2 separate regions of the Homo sapiens genome follow, and region 1 is linked to region 2. Evidence: promoter capture Hi-C in 16 types of primary human blood cells and fetal thymus (Javierre and others, 2016). All regions are on one chromosome and are shown on one strand. Each heading gives the region's core, a stretch centred on a gene start or on the middle of the fragment in contact. The rest is flanking DNA. Distances are from core to core; before and after follow the strand shown. Region 1 overlaps LOC105369896 (a long non-coding RNA gene). Region 2 holds the start of EEA1 (early endosome antigen 1).

What was found. The method cuts DNA at HindIII sites, captures the fragments that hold promoters and counts their contacts. A CHiCAGO score of 5 or more calls a contact.
Region 1: a fragment that was not itself captured here is called in contact with the fragment with the promoter of EEA1 in region 2 in 1 of 17 cell types (fetal thymus); the score reaches 7.0 in fetal thymus.

What each region holds. Positions count from the first base shown.
Region 1 is chr12:91,378,114-91,380,944 of GRCh38, reverse strand. The region is part of intron 4 of LOC105369896 (a long non-coding RNA gene); the gene reads left to right. Among named protein-coding and RNA genes, the nearest start is that of LINC02823, 53 kb to the right of the region's middle. RefSeq lists an enhancer at 1-53. The HindIII fragment of the contact is 2,179 bases long and covers 365-2,543 here.
Region 2 is chr12:92,927,853-92,930,552 of GRCh38, reverse strand. It overlaps EEA1 (early endosome antigen 1), which reads left to right and starts at 1,258. Exons shown (of 29, transcript NM_003566.4): 1 at 1,258-1,510. The coding sequence starts at 1,487. RefSeq lists a silencer at 789-1,868. The HindIII fragment of the contact is 15,624 bases long and covers 1-2,195 here.

The sequences.
Region 1 (2,831 bases), core at 205-2,704, 1.5 Mb after region 2:
CTTTTGAGCATGTTCTTCCATTTAAGCCATTACTCAGAGGGCACAAGAAGTATTTTTCCCAAATGCGCTTCAAGAGACAGGGCATTAAAACACACAATTTGTTAATTATCCGATATTATCAGGAAATGAAAGTTGCCAAACGGGAAAAGCCAGGCTCTTAAACTTTGATTTTCCCTCAGCAGTCTATTCAACTGGGCTTATATAAGGAGGAGACAAGCTGAACCCAAATTTTACAACACAAAGCAATTTTTATTGGCAGCAAGGGAGACCCCTTCCTGAAAAAGAAAGAAAAAACCCAAATCTATGTCTAATTCTTAAAATATGTTTCAGGTTGTAGATTTTAGCAATATTTATTATTCAAGCTTGGGAATATGACCTCATTTGCCATGGTTGTTTGCTTATTTTAAGAAAAATGCCTTTCTACTTCTTGTTGCAAGCCATCAGGCAACCATTTAAACATGCAAGCAAAAAGTCTGGATCATGGGCATATTTAAAAATCTGGAAGACTTCAATAAGTTGTAAAGATTTACGATTCCATCGTGGGCTTGCAGAAGGGGTTTGCTGTGGCCTTCTGTGAGCAAGGGCGGCCTAGTATATGGTGGGCATAGGCCAAAGAACTTACCAAAAATTCTACCAGAGTGAAGGGAGCACAAATAGTTTTGGGGGAAAACTTTCCTTGTCTTAAGCAATACCGTATACAGTGTTTAGAAGGAATGTCACCTAGGTTTCAGAAGGTGAATTTGAAAGGCTGAAATAAAGTACTTTAGAAAGAGGTATCTTTTTCTTTCCAACATCAATTTGATGCACACAGGGACAGATTTTGAGAAGCTCTGTAATTGCTCCCAGGAGTTGAGTTAGGTTGAGGTAGTCAACCAGCTGCTAACAATTTAGTTTAATATGCAGTCTTAGTAAATTAAAGGAATCTGATAAATTGAGACCCAGCATGATTCTTATTTGTTTGCTATGGCATAACATGTTGAACGCCAGCAGAAATTAACCCATTGAAATTTTTCTACTCAAGGCCCCCATTTTATTTTCTCACTTTCCTGTGTCAGATGTTTTTGCTCCAGACTTGGTCATCTGAGCAATTCCTTAGTTTTATGCTTATCTACTTAAAAAATATATATATAACAATAATACAAATTCTAGAATCATGCTTATTTTCAGTTTTCTCTCTGTGTTTGTATTTAAACTCCTTGAAGGTAAAAATAAATAAATAAATGAGTCTGTTACTCCTCTTGTGTGTTAACCTTTCTACTTCACATGTAGATCATCTTAAACATGCTTGATGTAGATTTTGTTTTCTGTGGGAGCTGAGACACTTGTGGGAGGAGAAATGTGCAATTTTGTACTTGGCTACATCCCCAGAGGAGTGGTGACCAGAAAAGGGAAAGACAGCTTGCCAGATACCTAAAGGATAAATGAGATATTGAGCTACTGGAAACACCAAAATTTACCATTGATTCTTTCTACACACTAAACTGTTACTTGTGATAGTAGTTGTAAAAAACTGCATGTTTATTAACCGAAAGGTGATTGTTCTAACATTCACTGGGAAAGAGTGAAATGGTTGGAATAACACTTTAGCACTCATACCTAAAGATTTGCAAAGCCAAAATGCCAGGCAAAATTAAAACAGGCTAAATTCATATGTACAAAAGAGCTGTAATTCTTTTATGATGAAATAGATATTTTCTTAGAAGCAACAGTTTCCTGTGTTCTGTAAAGTAAGCCAAGTCAGTAATGGGTAACTCTGGCATCTCCTGCTCTCCTCTCACCTCATGGATGCCAGGCTTTCGAGTTGTATTTCAATTCTCCCTTACATTGTGGCCTCTTTGCCTCACTCCCAAATTCCTCATACCTCTTCCAAACTTGCAGTTAGGAGTGAATATAGGATCCTCCTCCTCCTCCTCTTTCTCTCTCTGTCTTTAGATTAAACTGAAAACATGGCAGCTTTTTCCAAAATTATTCATTCTTTGTCAGGTGTGTGTGTATGTGTCTTATTGTGCCATTGAAAATAAGAATGTGGAGGGTGCCTTACTATGCCATAGAACAATTTATTGTGTTTCTGGGTTGCCATCTTTTCAATCTGATTAATTTATGGTCCCATAGAGAATCTCTGGTGTGAATTATGTTAGCTTTGTTGAGTCCACTGTGCAGAAAGTCAGTTTGTATCAATATTCTTCTAGGCTTAACAGTTTCTCCTTAAAAGGCTTAATAATTGCCTGTCATTTGTCTCTTGGCCCATTTTTATCTTGGAAATGATTGGCTGTTAGGCAGACCATTTGTGTAATATTACTATAAAAGCCTTAAAACATGGGAAGAAAATTAGAATCATATGTGTATATACTAGGTTAGTAATGAATAAAGTGCTTTTCTACAAAATTTTGAGGACCTTTTAGGAAATCAAAATCTTTAATGACATGAGGATATCCCAAGTCAGAATAAGGGGAAGTTTGAGGGAAAATATTTAAATTAGAGGGTAACTTTGTGCAAGGACAAGTGATATTTGTAATTTTTAGTGTACAGGCTACCATGAAGCTTACAAATGAAAACAACAGCAACAATTTAAAACCAAACCATCTAAGTCAAATTTTATCTAAAATGAGGTAAATGCTATGACAAAAATGAAAATTTTATTGCAATTCAAGATCAAGTAGATGTCATTATGGTTTTTCAAATTATGAAATAAATAAGGAAGGAAAATGTGGCTAAACCTACAAAGAACTATGAAGATTAAAAATGGAACGTGGAATTTGTACTGTCTTAATTCCTCTGGCTTTTATAAACAAATAAAAGTAATATTGTATACTGCTAATAGCCACTCTAAA
Region 2 (2,700 bases), core at 9-2,508:
ATATCATATTACATTATATAATGCATTATACTTTACAAAACATTTTCCTATTCATTAACTGATTTGCAAATAATATTTAATTTTGTGCTGCTTTTCAAAAGATCTGGAAGTGCTTTCCAAAAAGCACTCCATTCATTGCTTCATAGGCTTCATTCAGTGGTCTGTTGGTTTTTTCTTTTTTTTTTTTTTTCCCTCCCAGCAAGGTTAGTTCCATTATTCCCTCTCCTTCCCTATTCAAGCAATATTAAAGGCTTCTCTTTTTCTACCAGGGTGTTAAGTTGAGCCTCTTGGCTGTGAATATTGGCAGAATGGTAGGACGCAGAAGCTGTGATTTCTCGAGTTAAATAATGACATCGTGCCTGGAGGTCAGTTCAAAGACCACGTCGTTTTGGCACGATATTTATCTGTGACCTCATTTTCTTCTTAATCTATAAAACAGAGGCGTTAATGACAATTTACTTCATAAATCGATTATCAGAATAGGACTTAAAATTCCTTAGGAGGTCAAGCACGGGCTTTAGAAAGTGCAACATGTGAACATCAGCCTATTAAAAATTGTTTTGATCTAGAAAAGACAACCTCAAACTTCTCTTGCCAATTCAAATTCCAGCTTCTTCCTACCCTTCTTTTCTAAATCTTTGCTTTCTCTTTGGCTGAAATTAGAAGCAGGAAGGGAGCAGGGAAAGGAAACCTGGGACTGGAAAAGGGCAGGGAAGCCCAACAGACCGGTTAAGCACGTCTGAGATTCTCTAGTCGGCTTCAACCCAGGGGCTAAGAGGCAGAGTCAGCGTTTCCAGCAGAAACTAGCATATAGCTCAGGCTCAATACCACGTCGAGTCAGGAGCCATCGCCGGAAGGGTCACACCGACACATTTTACAAAACAGCCTAAGGCGTCCCCTCCTCCCGCCTGGGTCAGGGAGGGACACCCCCAGGGGTCCTCGCCCGCCTCCCACTAGCGGGCACGCGGTCGTCGCGCGGGCGCGGCCCTCTGACGGAGCCCAGGCGTGCACTCCGCAGCCTCGGCGTCCCCCAGCTAGCCGGAAGAAGCTGCGGCGACAGCGTCCTGCCGCCTGTCTGTCACGCAGCCGCCCACGTTGCCACCGCTTCCGATTGGTCGCTGGCCTGGACCGGCCCCCTTCAGCCCCGCCTCCCGCGAATGGACAGGCGAGGGGCGGGCCCGCCACCGCCCCGCCCCCCGGCGGCCGCGGGCGGGCCCGCCCATCTGTCAGTTACGGGGGCTGCCCGGCGGGCGGGCTGGAGGCGCTCGCAGGCTGCCTAGTCGTTCGCTCGCTCTCTCTCGCGTGCTCCCTCTCGCCGCCTGTGGGGAAGTCGGGGCCGCCCGAGCGGCCGTCGCCACCGCCTCGCCCCGACCTCCTTCCCGGTCCCCTCCCGGCCCAGTCCCTCCCGCCCGCGCACCCCGAGTAGTGAGTGGCCCCGCGCAGGGTCTGGAGAGTCACCGCGGCGGCGCCGGGTGGTGGTTAAACCATGTTAAGGAGGATTTTACAGAGGGTAAGAGAGTGAAACCGTCTTTCTGGCAGCACGTGAGCGGGACAGCCGGAGCTCGGGGCCGCGGCGCGGGCGCCCCTCCTCAGCGCGGGCTCCTTCCTTCCCTAGGCCCCACAGCCCGGCAGGCGCTTAGGCCTCGGTCGCCCGGCCCGGGGGCGGGGAGGGCGGGTGGGGCCGGCGCGGCGGGGCGGCAGGCAGAGCCCTGGTGGCCCCGCGCGTCCAGGCCTGGCGCCCGCTCCGGCGCGGGGCTCCGTGTGTGCGAGCGGGCTGCGAGCTGGAGGGTGTGGTGCCGGCGCGTTCCTCCCGGGAACCCTGAGTGGGAGTGAAAATGGAGAGTTGGTGCCCGTGGGACGGGCCAGCCGCCGCCTGCCGGGCTGGAGAACGCCCCATGGGAGATTCGGGCGGCTTGCTTCGCCTTTCCCCACCCGCCGCACTCCCCGTGCCCCCCAATTTGACACGATGCGCACCTGCCACACACGGCCCTGCTTTCTCCTTTGGACCACAGTGGAGGGTGGTGTGGTGAGCCCCGGCCTAGCCTGGGCCCAGGCGTGGGACTGACACTGGCACAGTCAGCCGAGAAGGAAGATGTTACTCACTGTTGGAAACTTTTTTTTTAATTAAAAATATGTTTTCTGTGCAAGCCCCACTACCTTATTTTAGCTATCCAAGAATAAATCCGCAGTAAGCTTGATCAAGTGGTATATACACTTAGTTTCTGCCTGTGCTGTCTCTGAAATCTGGAAAACCTTGAGGATAGAAAGATTAGAGCATTAGAAAACTGTAGGTGTATCATTTAAGAATCAGTTACTAGAATAACATAATTCACATCTCTTTTCCTGTAAGAGTTATTGTACCTGTCAACTTAAATTTGTTTTTTTTTTTTGGTATAGCTTTTTTCTTTTCTTTTTGAGGCTGATAGGGTGTAACAAAATGTAAATGATTGAAAAGTAGGTGCCGAGCCTATTAGTTCTTTACCGAGGGAGTAGGATAACTAGTTCAAAGGACAAAAGAAATTAGTGAATTTGTAGGATTCAGCCGAGGAATGTGCGGAAGAGAGTTGAGTCATCCAGTAGATAGGAAGGGAGTGCTCTTGCTTCTGCCTAGCTTTCTCCTGAAAGAATGAAGTCATGTGAAACTTGGTCAGTTATTAGAGGGAGAAATAGTTAACTTCTTTATCTGACAACCTGTGTTGA